3 separate regions of the Homo sapiens genome follow, and all the other regions are linked to region 1. Evidence: promoter capture Hi-C in 16 types of primary human blood cells and fetal thymus (Javierre and others, 2016). All regions are on one chromosome and are shown on one strand. The core of a region is centred on a gene start or on the middle of the fragment in contact, and the rest is flanking DNA. Distances in the headings are between cores, read along the strand shown.

Region 1 (5,041 bases), core at 638-3,137:
AGGAAATGATTGAAGCTGTGGGCACCAAGAAAGGGCAGTGCTGGAAAGAGAATGAATGACATAGACACCCAATAACAGGGAGCGTTGGTCATTTTTGCATGGACCAAAACAAAATTGAAGAAGTACTGCTGATCAAAGGCCAATACAATGCACACATATCATTCTGGTTAGGTTGTCTCCTGAGAAAAATATTTCTCAGCAGCAGTATGATTTATTTTGAACAATATCTGATTGAACAGCATTCTAGTAATGTAGAAAATTTATAGACATCTACTAAATTTTATTCTAGCAGATAATCCACATTAAAAGAGACAAAAGTCCATGTTTTACCTAGAACCTCTCTGTGGCTCCTTTTCTCCACCAGAAAGACAATAATTTCATATCTGGCAGAAGTTAATGCTTTTTAAGTTCTTGACGTGTATACTCTGTGGAAGAAGTGACCTAAAAGGAAAACCAAATAGTTTGATAAAGGATAACTGTAAAGAACAAAAAAAGTAAAACAAACTACTATAAGACTAATAGTCCTTGAGACAAGCGCATGAATTAGTGATGAAGTATTGCTTTACTACATCCTGAAAATTCTTTACATTTATTTCTTCAGTTGAATGAAGCTTTCTAATATCTGTGTCTGGAACTAATTCTGATAACCTTGGCATTCAAAATGGAGATAAAGGATAGATAGCCTTCCACAAAACGCTTCAGTATGGCAAGAAGAATCATCTAATATTGACAAATAAAGCAACGTGACATCTGTGTTGAATTCCAAATTGACTTGTTGAGCTGTGCAAAAAAGTAAAAGAAGGTGCTTATTTTCAGGATGTGAAATACATTGGGAAAAGCCAAGGTCAAAGATGAAACATGACTCAATGCCAAAGATTTTCAATCTTAATGAAAATCTCTTTCAATAAGAAATTGACGATTGAGAAACAGTGTCATTGTTAGAAGTTCGATGTTCTTTTGGGGGTCTAACAGACGAAGCCCCAGAGAACTGACTTTTATTAATAGATAGCTTAAGATTTATAGCTTAGGAAGAACAGATTAATAGTTTTTGGAGTAAAGCCTGAATTATAGAAGGATGACCTGAGCCCTGGCATGAGTGATCAATCAGTTCAGTGTCTGCAACTGCACAATTTTAAGAACTCTTAAAAGGCTCTTTGGCCACTGAAAATGCATTATAAAGGATAAGTCCATAACCAGCCAAGTCTGGAATATATGTTTATATGGCTATACAGATCCAGTGTTTCTTTAAAAATAAAGCAAAGGGTATGACACAGGTTGGTTTGCTGTTACTTAGGATATGTACGATTGAATTGAGCCTAAGATAAGTGGGATGTACTGGGTAAAATGTGGATGCTGGAGGAGGATGCACAGAGGCTAATTTGAATCCAGGAGATTTTTCCATTTAGGAAATAGAATTGGAGTCAGGGAAGTAAAAATCTTGAATACAAAGCTAAGAAATTGAATTTTCCTTGTTAATCAGGGTTCAACCATTGATGTTTACAAATGAGAAAAATGTTTCATGCAGGTTAATCCTACTGCAATATTGGCAGGAAAGGTGGAGGTCAGCGGGAAGAGACCTCTGGAAACCTGTTGAAGAATGAGTACTTCCAGGGTAAAGCTACAGCAGGCAGGACAGCAGAGTGGTGGCCTAGGCATTGGAGATAAAGGCAAAGATAAAACACAGATGGAAGGAAAATTCCTAAGGCACCATGAGACACTGGATATTGAGTGAGAGAGAATCCAAAGAACGAAGAATCACTCACGTCGAGCTCAGCCTACTAGGACGTCAATGGGTTCCTTATTTGTTTTCTGTAACTCTCTTCTCAAAATGGATCAACTTCTTTCAAACTTCCCTAGTGCAAATTCTGGTTTGGTTACTTTTCTTTTCTGTAAAATGATAAGAACATTAATTAGTCTTGAAGGAACCATTTACTGCATTGCAGATGATTAGAAAATTGACAATACCAACAAAAATTGAATTGGATTCTTTAGGTTTAATATTTGGCCTAAACTAACATATTTCACCTGCCATGTGCCACACTCACTGATTATTCCTGAGATATTCACCAAACCCTTCCCCACACTTGGCAGTGAGTTCATTAATGACAGGTATTTATTTTTTATCTGTCTCCATAGCCTCAACACTTAATAACATTCCTAGCACTTAACAGATGTTCCATAAATGATGATTAAATGAATAAATAGAAGCCTAGTGTGATTCCCAGCTTTGCCTGGAATAGGTCCTGCTCCAATAGGAACTCTTATACCTCTTTAAAGAGATAAGGAGTTCGGCTTCAGGGAAAACACCTTGTAGACTCCATTTATCATTACTTTTCTAGGTTGTTGTCATACAGGAAAAAAGAAATGATCTGACACATTTCTTTCCAGCCTTACACACTAATACAGTATAAGGAGCCACAGAGAGGAATTTTAAGATTTTTTTTAAGGGAGAGTATTTGATTGGCCAAGATGTTTGTTTAATTCAAGAGAAGGAAAGCCCCAAATGCTGCCTAAACATAAACTCACAATTCAAAACATTTTAGAAATTATCTGGCAACTTTACATAGAGTCCAAATGTTTCCAGGGTATGCAGAAAGATGCCCCAAAGTCTTAAGTACCCCCAGGGAAAGTAGATCAAAGTTTAGAGACCATTTAGACTCACTTCCAAAAGGATCTGGCCTCAGAGTTTTGCAGTAGTGAGCAAAAATTCTAGAAAGGTCTAGGTTCAGAAACCATAGCAAAGTTACAAGAGAAAGGTTTTCTAGCTTCTGTTTCTTATGCCATTCAACAAGATTTAGAAGGAAATGCAGCCAAATTTAATGGTCGTTACCTGATGAAAAACAGACATCCTTTGGATTATCCTCAAGCAGAACTGAACAGAACTAAATGCAATTAGAAGACTCCACGGAGGCCAAGATGATCAGATGATCGAGGAAAGCAAACTGATATAAAATATAAGCTCACCATGTTAGGTAACTCATGTGTTTCCAACATGGTGCTATTAGAGGAGCATTAGAGAAATTTACTGTATCATGAAGTGCACATTCGTTTCCTCGGCTGAGGACAGTACTACGACAATATTTGACAGGAAATGTAGAGAATTTTTATTTCAGTCAACTCTAAAAAGAATGGCGAAATTCTTGAAGCTGTGTATGATGATTCTCTATTAATATTCTTTGTTCAATCTTTAAAATGGCGTTTATTTCTCAAAGGAAAGTTCGTGCCATCAATATTGATTCCATTATATTTGTGATATACATCAAGTTTTATCTTCAGAGTGAAAAGTTCTTTGTATATCTTTGTAGTAAACACAGATTTTGTTCTCATTTTGAACATGCACTAATTTCTACATGAACTAAATTTCTACATGAACTGGGCACATTGGCTTAATTTAAATAAACATGTTAAGGTGGTCATTACTATTCAAGAGTCACCAATGTTCTGATTTTTTATTTTATGTTCTGCTTTTTTATTTTAGACAGGCAAGTTGTTAGCATTTTTTTCAAGGAACAAAGAACAAAAATTATCTTGATAAGAACTTGTTTCTGAAAAGCTAGATTAGCTCTTCTCTGCACACCAATCATGCAATGACAGTACAATTTAGTGACTTAAGCAGTACATTAGGATTCTCAGCCTAGGCAGAAGCTTCACCCTCGGGCCAGACCTATATAATAGTTGTAAGAAAATGATTTATGTGTTGTAATAAATGTTACTTCTCAATCTGTTTGCTTGTTCAATGGTTGAGGTCCCAAAAGAAAAGGTCTATCTCAAATTAGGACTGGCATGTATTATCTGTCAACTTTATATAGTACTGTAAAAGTCATTCAGCTGACAGTAATATTAGCGGAATGTTTTATAGATTTTTGTACTGTGTGAAGCTTTGTATGGGTGACGAGAGACTTTGGGTCTGTGGTGCTCTGTGGTCCGGGATAAAGTTGCGTGTAGATGAGTCGTTTCTGTGCTTCTCTGTAAATGAACATCTGGCTCACATATTGATTCCATGTGTGAAAATGAGATCAGCCCATATAATGACCAGAATCAATCAGGCTTCAGCCGAGGAGTAACATACACTGGTCTTGATTTGTTAGACAACCAGAATTGGCAGCACCTTGCATAATTTGGCACCAATTGACAAAGATTAGGCTGTTTGGGGACCCTGAATGGTTATTAATTTGAAAACCCCTTATATATTTTGCAGAGTAAAATCAGCTGTAACTTATTTGTTCCAGCCCCCTTCTTCTCGTACGAGCCCTAATTGTTTTAGACAAACGAACGAGCTTGCAGCCTGTTCACTTTACACAGGAAGACATGAATTCTTTGATCCATACAGTATTCTTTAGCTCAACCTTGGAGCTATTTACTGAGGAGATTTATTTGCAGACAGACAGTAGAACAGTTCTTTGTGAATAGAAATGAGTACAGCTTCTATGTGTTTTCAGCTCAAGTTTCTGCTACTTACTGTAAGGGAGATAAAACTAAGCCATCTTTATTTTTAACCCAAATCATTCTTTTTTAAAATATAGTTTTAAAAACTGAAAATGAATTAGACTCTTGACCTTTTTACTTTTTCCTCACAAGTTATATTTACTAGAGCACAGATTGAACTCAGAGAATGACCAAATACCATTTCTTATTTTGTGAATTGTGTTAATCATGAAGAAAAACTTGTGAGATTTTAAAATGGGACAGGCGTTGATTGTGAACATTTTACAAATGTGTCTCACTCCTTAATTCCAGGCACAAATAAAACTACCTGTGTTGTATGAACACTAGTTAGTTCAAGAAAAGCAATAAAAATCTACTTTTAAAAATTATTACTGCCAAGTAGTTTTAAAGATACAGACTCATTTACTTTGAATTTAACTAGTAATATTTAGGTAAGTATCTAAACCAATATTTAATTTTTTCACCAATTAAATGAGAGTTATTGGAACAGTCTCTCTAAATGCTTTATATATATGAGCCAGGCAATGTAATAGTAACAATAACAAGATAGTTTCATAACTAAGCCTTTCTATAATGCCATAAGATATGAACTCCA
Region 2 (5,041 bases), core at 737-3,236, 950 kb before region 1:
AAGGATTGTGATTCATATGAAGCCTCAAAATTGACTTTTAAAAATAATTCCCGGGTAAAATCATCATCAACTCCATGAACATAAAGTTGTTGTGGATTTGACAGTGACTATCTTCTTGGATTCAGACTCTGAGCTTTTGTTTCTTCCTGTGAGAAAATATTTGCCTTTTACCCCAATGTTGGCCCTTGTCTTGTAATCACCCCTTTGCCATGCCTCTCAGGAACTGGGGACATGCTGCTGAATCCAAGTCCATCATGGCTGGGGTCTGTGTTCTCTATATTAACTGAAGATAAGGATTTCAGAACCCAGAATAAGGTAAGGGACAGGTAATTGATTAGATGAAGATGACAAAGGAAGAATGATTCTATGACATATCTCTGGTATGATAAGGTTGAATCAGAAACAATAGTTGAACCATAGACACCGTTCTGAAGTTGTCATCCTTGGACTTTTCTTCATGACCCAAATTGCCCTTTGAGTTCCTAGCTCATTTTATTCTTCTTTTTGGTTTTCTGGCTCTGGTTTTTGAGTGTGTAAATTCCTATTTCGGACGCTCTTATCTGACCCTGCACCACTTCTAGACTATGACTTAAGTCTAATATTCTGTCGTATATTCCTGCTGAAAACTTACATAATGATAATAATGATGGTGATAATTATGATGATAATAAACATCTACAGAATATATATTTAAGTTTTACATTTATATCATTTAATAAGAATAGTTGGTCTCTTGTTCTTTTCCCCAGTTTTAGGCAAAGAAACTGAAGAACAGATAGGTTAGATTATACAGTTGTTAAGTGGCAGGGCCTGAAGAAAGATGCAGGTAGTTTGGCTTCTGAAGCTGTGCTCTTATCAAGTGTATTATATTGCTTTATTACATCTCTACCAAGCCCTTCATTGCTCACCGAATGACAAAGAAGTCTGTAAAAAAGCCTCCTTTTCCTTTCGTGCTTGTGATAACATATGGCATTGGGGAGCTAGAGTTCCCAATAATTCTTCTTTGGAATTCCTTAGGCAGCATTTAATTTCAACATTCTTTCCCCCAAAAGAGCATTTTTAAAAGCATGACATTTCCTGTTATCTCCCCTAAATAATGAGATCACCCAGATGATTCTGGGGGACTAGTTGCATTTTATCAGTGGCGCCTTTGTTGCACAATTTACATTTTTGCTCTTGAAGATACAATAAAAGATTTATGTCTGACGGGCTGTGATGTGGTTTGCATCTAAGAGAAAAACAATTCCTTCCAAAAAAATACCATATCCCCAAATGATTTCATAATTGCAAACAGTGTTGACGAGCTCTTTGGCTTAAATAAGTTTATAACATATTTGCTGTGTTTTTGTGTAGATATGTTTTGATGCTAAGGAAAAATAATGAAAACCCCTCTGCCATTTCTAATTGAGAAGAAAGAAATGTAATCCATTAGTTGATGTCTCCCATCATAAGATTATTTTTTCTCCCTCATTTCATTCCAGATTTGTTTGAAAAATTAACTTGTGTTAAATAGTTTCAGGTCTGAAAGTCAGCCATGTTTCTCATTATTGGAGATCAAAATGGCCTCATTCCCTTTGTGTGTTGGTGCCACTAAAACACAAGGGAATCTTAAAAGTACAAACTTCTGATAGAAGCACCACATTTCCCTAGTCAATCTGCCCAGCAGAGCTTACATTTTTTTTCCTGCATTTACTGCTGGAACAATGCTTTATACTGACAAGTTTCAGGGTTTTAGTGTCATGCTCAGACTGGGAAAGACTTTTAGTGAAGACATGCTGGCCCCAAGGCTCTAGTCACCCTTGAACTTGTAAATGTGTCATTATGAACCTTGCTCTCTAATGCTCCTTCAATCAACTATTGTCTTTGATCTTTAAGCAGAATGTGAGCATCCACCTGGTGACATAAAGACTCATGACCTACATTAATCTAGGGGTCTCTGCATTTAAACAAACCTGGCTTTCATCCACTGATTGTTATATGACCTGTTTCAAATTTGAAAACTTTCTTCATCTACAAAATGGGACTATTGGTAATAGATGACGTATGTTAAAGAATTGCTGGGCAAAGGAGGACATGTTAAGTGCCCAGTTAGTGCTATTGCATGATACCTTATTACATTGAAAGGGAGGAGATTGATTTCAAAGCCTTCTGAAGATTCTTTCCAGCTCCAGCATTTCATTGTGACACTGCTAGAATTGGTTACCTGGTTGATTCAGTCTAAATGATTAGATGCTAAGGGAAAATTTGAGGGTCATAGAGGCATAGGGCAAGAAATAGCAGCCATCTTCCCTGCTTAAGAGCTGAACCAATTAAGAGAGAAAATCAAGCAGTAAAAGAAGTGGAGATCAAGATATCACTTTTATGATTGATGGAACCAAGAATGAAGACTAAGGCATGTGTCTGTGGCTTCCTCTTGGACAACTCCACAAGGAGCCAGGTTTATCCTTTCAACTGGCCTCGGCACTGGCTTCACACAAGAAGACCAGAGAACATGTGTTCCCTCCTAAGAGCTTGCTCCCTAGAGGAGGTGACAGAGGTCTTCATTCTCATTCCAAACTCACCAGTCAGTGCGGAGGGAGTGAGAGGATGGAGAGGAGCCAAGAGCACTGTGCCAATGATTGTCCTCCACCTGGAAGGGAATATGAGAGATGGGAATGACAGGGTCATCTGCTTCAGTGTCTATTGAGTTCAAGAAATAAATGACCTAGATTTCACTTTGTGAAGATAGAGTTTGTGGGAGATAGGCTCAGACTTAGGTATTTCACCTTCCTTGTAGGTTAAATTGATTCATATCAATGAACTCAGCCTTTTTCTCTAAATCCATAGAGTCCTGGTGGGATAATATCCCACACACAAAGGTGAGAATTAAGTAAATAATCTTCTCTTGACCATCCTCTCTTCCATCTTCCTCTAGCTCCTTTCAACTTATGACCGCAACAATGAATCTTAAATAAACTGCTTCAAAGTCGTCATAATGAAGTAACTGATAGGATAGTACTGGCAGCCACATTGATGATAATGAACCTGAGGATGAAGGTTTGATTTCTAATACGCTTTAGTTTTGAAGTGAGATAAATTGTTTTGTTAGAAGACTTGGCACCTCTGCTCTTGTCCAGCTGTTTAACAAATGTGAGTCCTTGGTCACCAATGAAGCCAGTCTAGAGGGTGTAGATAGCTGAGTGTGAGCCATAATTACTACTGTGAAAACAACTCGAAGCACATGTCCTACTGATGGGTGTGAGATGGCATGCAGTACACGCACAATGCAGACTTTTGGAGGTATGTTTTCAAGTTGTGCTTTGCAGGAGGTCTTAGCCACACACACTTTCAGGGTCTTAGAATCCTAGCTTTATGCATGAGTAGAGGGATCCCCTGTGTATTATTAGTAATTCCTTTTATTTATTGTGCCATCACTTGGAGGGTGTTCTCAAGATCCGAAGCCTTTGCCTCTGTGCTGGGGCCCTTTTCTGTTTTTGTTTTTTTTTTGACGGAGTCTTGCTCTGTCGCCAGGCTGGAGTGCAGTGGGGCGATCTTGGCTCACTGCAAGCTCCGCCTCCTGGGTTCAAGCCATTCTCCTGCCTCAGCCTCCCAAGTAGCTGGGACTACAGGTGCCTGCCACCACACCTGGCTAATTTTTTGTACTTTTAGTAGAGACGGGGTTTCACCTTGTTAGCCAGGATGGTCTCGATCTCCTGACCTTGTGATCCACCTGCCTCAGCCTCCCAAAGTGCTGGGATTATAGGCTTGAGCCATAGCGCCCAGCTCCTTCTTTTACTACTTTTATCATAGTGCATCTGTGTCATATTATTTTTAAAAATTTTTCACTAGGCTGTGAACTCTGGAGGATTGGTGCTGAGACTATCGTGTTCACAGCTATATCAGTAGCACTAAGTACAGTGTCTGACCCATGGGAGGGGATTAGTGGGGATGTTGTTGAATTAAATTAAATGTCAGTTTGCTTCCCAAGGTAGGGCACACAGGCACTCTGGGTTGAGGCTCTGGTTTCGTTAAGAGGGCACCTCTTTAGTCTGGTGACCTTGATTTACTTCTAGCAACAACCTGCAGACTCATACAGTTTTCAAGGGCCTCCAAGATTCCTGAGAAATGAATCACATTAACCTTCTTGTTTGGGATATCTTCATCAACAATACACAGAGATATGTAGGCTGCAGAATTCTCAACACCCCAATGTAAAGAGTCACATTACATCTACCTGTGAACTCTCTGCTGTGTCAGTCTATGTGACTGTCTCCTTGTCCTTCAAGGAGAACCAAGACTGGGATTCAGGCACAAAATTAAAGGTGTGCCAAAAAACTCCATAAGCAAGATAAATAATACTTTAATGTAATATTCAAAATTAATGCAAACATTTTACAACTCACAAAATATGAACTTTTAAATAACGACCGTTTTGGTATTCTTAATTTTCCTTTGCCGCAACGGCACTTCTTTATTGCCTCCCCTGCCTGGTCCTAGAGAAGACAGAACCAATGAGAAATTACCTTGGCCATAACTTTCCTGAATTTTACTCCTTTATTTTATTTTAAAAAGTTTCCATATCGGCTGGGGTGGGTGGTAGTATGGAGTTTCAGTAATACTGAAAGGTAAATGCAAAAACATAATCATAAAAATTGGATGAGGTAGTCAAACCTGAAGTGCCTACATTAGAAAAGATTTAGCAGGGAAAATGTTGCATATTTAATAACTAGATAACGCAAGACTGAAATAAGTAAAATTTAATAACATTCAGAAATACAGCTGCAATATTTCTTTCTCAGATGAATGTGTATGGCTTCATTTTTATTTGCTTTGTCCTTCATTGGAATTGATTTTTAAAAGGGCTTCTTAAATTGTTCTAGATTTCCTTTAAGCAGCACAAAATGCTGTTATATGCAAAGTTGCTTTAAATGGGAGCAAATGTGTATGAAATCAGCAACTGCTCCAAAGGCGCCATTCTTTCCTACTGGAGGAGCTTTCTTCATTTACATAGGAGCGCATGAAGCCAGAAAAAGGGGAAAATACAAACATGAAATCTTCAAGA
Region 3 (5,041 bases), core at 657-3,156, 930 kb before region 1:
AAAAGAATGTGTGAGCTCCTGCACACCAGATAGCAAACATGCAAATCACTCCTTTCCCAGGACACTTGAGTGCTGCTGCTTCATCCACGCAGATGTGCTGTGGGCCTTGCAGATAGCATCTGTTTGTTCTATTTATGGGGGAAAAAGGCATGTATTTGTGAGCTCAGCATGAGCACAACTTTCCTTTTGGATCTTTTATTTCAGAATTTTTTTTTTGTACATTTTGCATTTGGAACCAAAAATTTTTAGAACAGTTATTCTAGATGCCATCTAATTCCCTCTCCTGTTCATTCCTTACCCACTCCCCTGCCTCCAAATTTCAGAGTTAAAATGAAGCGTGGAGAGATGAAGTGACTCGCACAAGAATATATATTATTCATTCTTGCTTTCATTCATCACTTATTGATCTGTTTAGCTATTAACTATTTATTGATTGAGGACCTACTATGTTCCAGGCCCTGAGCAAAAAGCACCACTGTTCCTGCCCTCATGTGTTTTATAGTTTACAGGGGGAAATACACATTAATAAAAAGAATGACACAAATATGCAACTGCATCTGTGACAATTACTACATGTTGCTCTAAGAGCTTAACATAGACACATTTGAGCTGGTCAGAGAGGTCACAGAAAATTTCCTTGAGGAAATGATGCTTAAGTAGTGATCTGAAGAATGAATAAGAACTCACAGGGCATTAGAGTGAAGTGAGCAGGAAAGCGCTAAGGCTGAGAGGTGAGTCAGAGCTACACACTGTAGCAACTTGTAGCTCATTCTGAAGCTTTGTTTTAGAGGGGAAGGGAAATGCAGGTAACGAACAATGGGAGGAGGGCAAGGGTGGATGAGGAAGACATTGAAGGCTGTAATAGCGGTCCAGGCAACAGATGACGAAACCTTGGTCTAAGGTAGTAGTGATGAAAGAGCTAGAAAGGAGTGGATATATTCAAGAGATATTTAGAATGTAAAAGTAATCCCAGCACTTTGGGAGGCCGAGGCCGGTGGATCACGAGGTCAGGAGATCGAGACCATCCTGGCCAACATGGTGAAACCCCGTCTCTACTAAAAATACAAAAAAAGAAAAAATTAACTGGTCATGTTGGTGCGTGCCTGTAGTCCCAGCTACTCAGGAGGCTGAGGTATGAGAATCGCTTGAACTCGGGAGGCAGAGGTTGCAAAGAGCCGAGATCGCGCCACTGCACTCCAGCCTGGCGACAGAGTGAGACTGTCTCAAATAATAATAATAAAGAAAAGTCACAGGATATGGGGAATAGAAGACTAAGTGGGGCCAAGGATGACCCCTAGGTTTCTGGGCAGGGAATAAAGATGAATAGTGGTGCCTAGAAGGTGAGGGGAAGGGGAAGATGATAAACTTATTTTAGGAAATGTTGAAGTGAGATGGTAGGTTATAGGTTGAATAGATTGGTCTGGCCCTCAAAGGCATGGTCTGGGCTGAAGATAACGTACTTGTGAATGAGTTGCATATGGTTTCGATAGCTGATGTGATTTATTCATCTGCAGCGCCTGGTATCACATCTCTGTATGTAGAATAATTCAAGTAGTCTTGGACAACAGGCTAAGTGAATTGTCAAACAACTTATTCTATATGGCAAGTACTTGAGGGAAATACGCGAGGTGGATTCAAGTCCTTTGCAGATGAATTAAGTTGTGTGATTTGAAGATACCTCTGTGCCCAGATAGTTTTCTTTTTCCCCTTGACCTGCAGGAGGGCCTGAATTTGCTGGAAGTTATGTTATTCTTTAACTAGTTCTCATTTTATTTGGCTTAGAACGATAAAATTTGAGTGTTTGAAGGGAATGTAAAAGTTGTTTACTCCAAACTTCTCATTCAAAATCTGAGCCTGCTTCACACAATTTCCAGACTTATAACCTCAACTTGAACATGTCTGTGATTGGGAATCCAATATTTGGCAAGATAGTGCAGAGTTTTCATTCTGTTCCCCAAATTCTTCTTTATTTTGGATTCTTCCACCTGGGATAACACAGAATAGTTCTCCTTTCTCTTCCACATAGTAGACCGTCAACTAGTGTTACCCCATAAATCAATCACTACTCTCATCTAAGCTGCCACAGGGGTGAGTGAATTACATTCAACAGTCATGGAAGTCATTGAAGCCCTTGCAAATACATCATCTTACTTAGATGTCACAACACACTTTGAAGTGAGTATTATTATTCCATAAAGAGATGAGGAAAACTTAATCTCTGAGTTAACTGACTTAATGAATGAGAGGTCACACGAGTAAGGAAGAGAGCTAGGATTTCAATCCAGTTATTCTGACTCCCAGCCCAGAGTCCTACTCAAGATGCCCTGAAAATCTGGGTTAGGGCTCAGTACTGACTTCAAAGGTAACACGTTAGTAGCGACCAGTGGAAATCAGCAGAAGGCATGGGGTGGGGGGCTCACCCTGCTGCTCCCCATGGGCTGAATGATGCCTGCCACTTGGACTTCCTCAGGAAATGTTTATTAAAATATAATTACACATGTTCAGACTATTTTTGATTTTGAACAGCTGGAGGCTGGGCATAAACTCTTCAGTTCTCCATTTTCTCCACTGCGTCCTTTGGCTGTATGCATTTGTCTATGGGCACAGCCCTGGAAAGCACTTGTGCTTATCACCTTGTATCCCTTTAGGAATGGCATAGAACTCTAACCTTCAATTTTTTTTCCAGATTTCACACCCTATTAGTTCAAAAAAACTTGAGCACATATCCCAAATATATTTATATGTGTATGCATGGGTTAAATACAAATATTAATGTAATCAAATATTATCTTCATTTAAAAATAAATACATCAAATATAAGTTTAAAGGAATATAAAAAACATAAATGAACAACTTACTATTTTCTTCTTCTTATTCCAACAAATTATCTTCATGAGCTTCCACTGGAGGGACCGCTGAGATGGAGTGTGGAACAGGGGCAGGAGAGGAGCCTGGTGTGACAGGCCATGGCTAGTTGGAGGACTACACCCAGAGACCATAAGGAAACAGAGTAGATGTGCTAACAACAAGCTTTCCTCGGATTGCCCAGCATCAGCCCTGTTCAGAGGAATGCACAATGCTAAGATCTCTCTGGAAGCTCAGAGAGTGAAGGGCTCATTGCTTTGGTCTGTGTTGTTTGTCCTTGGTTTTAATTGTCACTTGTGCCCTGAGCTATGTGGTAATAGCACTAACAGCTAACATTTGTTGACTGCTTACTATGTGCCACTGTGCTGAGAGATTTACGGACATTACCTCATTGTCTTTATTGCAACCCTGCGAAGTACTGTTATCCTCACTTTACAAAAGGGAAGGCTGGGGGCGAGATGTCTCATACCCGTAATCCCAGCACTTTGGGAACCCATCGCGGGCAGATCACCTGAGATCAGGAGTTCGAGACCAGCCTGGCCAACGCATAGTGAAATCTCATCTCTACTAAAAATATACAAAAAATTAGCAGGGCGTATTGGTGCAAGCCTGTAGTCTCAGCTGCTTGGGAAGCTGAGGCAGGACAATCGCTTGAATCCAGGAGGCGGAGGTTGCAGTGAACCAAGATTGCGCCACTGCACTCCAGCCTGGGCAACAGAGTGAAATGAGATTCCATCTCTCTCTCAAAAAAAAAATAAATAAATAAAAGGAAAACGAGGTGTAGAAAGCTGTGATTTACCTATGAGTGTAGGGCTAGTTAGTGACAGAGCTGGGATTTGAACCCAAGTCTATTCTCTACCAAATCACTCATTCTTAACTACTGTGCTATACTGACAATAGGATTAGTGGTTAGATTCCTGGTGGTGATCTGGATGGATTCCATCAATAGATGTAATAGTGATGGGAAGAATCACTAGCCCCACAGACCAAAAGGTTAGGCTTATATCAGGTGTGGATAAATGAGAGGAAACGGCCAGGTTTATAGAAATACAGATGTGCCAGTGCAGTTAAAAATAAAGCTTTTCAACCAAGTCTGAGTTCTTCTTTATTTCTAGCTCACTGGGCTCTTGTCATAATCCATAGCTCTAGGTAGCAAACATCCTAAATACCGTTTTGAATAAGACTGTCGGAGGCTGTAGTTGTTGTCTAGGGCACGTGAGTTCTATTTCAGTCTGTAAATAGATCAACTTTACATTTAAGAGTTTGGAAAATAAGAGAGAGAGAGAGAAAGAGAGAGAGATATCCAGGAATTCAGGAGTTCTCATTATCTGATAGAGTGATTCAAACCATTGGAGTCAGACAGATCTGGGTTTGAATTCTGATTTTGCTATGTATTCACTGTAAGAAATTTAGTGAGTTATCTAAGCTTTTCAAGCCATAATTCCTTCATGTTTAAAGTGAAGATAATGATACCTGCTTCAAAGTGGTGTTAAGATATAATGATATGCTATATGTAGAGTGCTTTGCATAGCACTTGGCACATAGTAAATACTTAAAGATTGATACTAATCATTGATCTCTTTGACCCTCCCTTCTCTAAGAAGAGGCACCGATTCTGTGGCATAAGCCCATGTCCTCTGCTGTGTGGGTTACCTCCTATATGTCCTATTTGAAAATGTTGAAAATGAGAATGAACTTTCTTCTGGATATCCTCAATATCTTGCTACCACAGAAAAAGAAATCTCTTTCCACAAAAGAGAAGCAAGAACTGGAGACACTGAAAGTTTATGGGCTGGAGAAGGCAGCTCTGAGAAGAAGAAAATAATTCTGGTGATCAGTGGCACCCTTCTGAGGGGGCCCAGATGCAGGCCAGATGCTGAGAATCTGTAGAAACTCAGGCTCAATAAATGTCATGCCATGACTTTCATCCATGTGGGCATGAAGAATAGCGACTGATCTCACTGAGATTATTAAGAGTGACTCAGGGTTCTGGAAACAGGGTTGTAGGAGGCTGACACTCAAGGGGTGGTCTTGACAATCCTCCCAGTTGAGCCAAAGAGTTTCTGTAGATGACAGCTCTGCTCTAGTGATGGATATCTACTTCACATGCCCTGCCCCACCCTAGAAGGGAGCTAGCAAAAAACACTGGGGATACTTCAATGGAAAGTGATTTGAG

What was found. The method cuts DNA at HindIII sites, captures the fragments that hold promoters and counts their contacts. A CHiCAGO score of 5 or more calls a contact.
Region 2: a contact is called between a fragment that was not itself captured here and the fragment with the promoter of TRPS1-AS1 in region 1, in 1 of 17 cell types (M2 macrophages). The highest score is 5.1, in M2 macrophages.
Region 3: a contact is called between a fragment that was not itself captured here and the fragment with the promoter of TRPS1-AS1 in region 1, in 1 of 17 cell types (M0 macrophages). The highest score is 5.4, in M0 macrophages.

Annotation. Positions count from the first base shown.
Region 1 is chr8:115,506,449-115,511,489 of GRCh38, reverse strand. TRPS1-AS1 (TRPS1 antisense RNA 1) reads right to left here and starts at 1,887. Exons shown (of 2, transcript NR_186605.1): 1 at 1,764-1,887; 2 at 165-441. The region is part of intron 5 of TRPS1 (transcriptional repressor GATA binding 1); the gene reads left to right. The HindIII fragment of the contact is 3,034 bases long and covers 614-3,647 here.
Region 2 is chr8:116,454,773-116,459,813 of GRCh38, reverse strand. LOC105375711 (a long non-coding RNA gene) reads right to left here. Exons shown (of 3, transcript XR_928551.3): 2 at 2,562-2,629. Among named protein-coding and RNA genes, the nearest start is that of LINC00536, 130 kb to the right of the region's middle. The HindIII fragment of the contact is 7,245 bases long and covers 1-5,041 here.
Region 3 is chr8:116,438,347-116,443,387 of GRCh38, reverse strand. The region is part of intron 2 of LOC102723447 (a long non-coding RNA gene); the gene reads left to right. Among named protein-coding and RNA genes, the nearest start is that of LINC00536, 120 kb to the right of the region's middle. The HindIII fragment of the contact is 2,253 bases long and covers 780-3,032 here.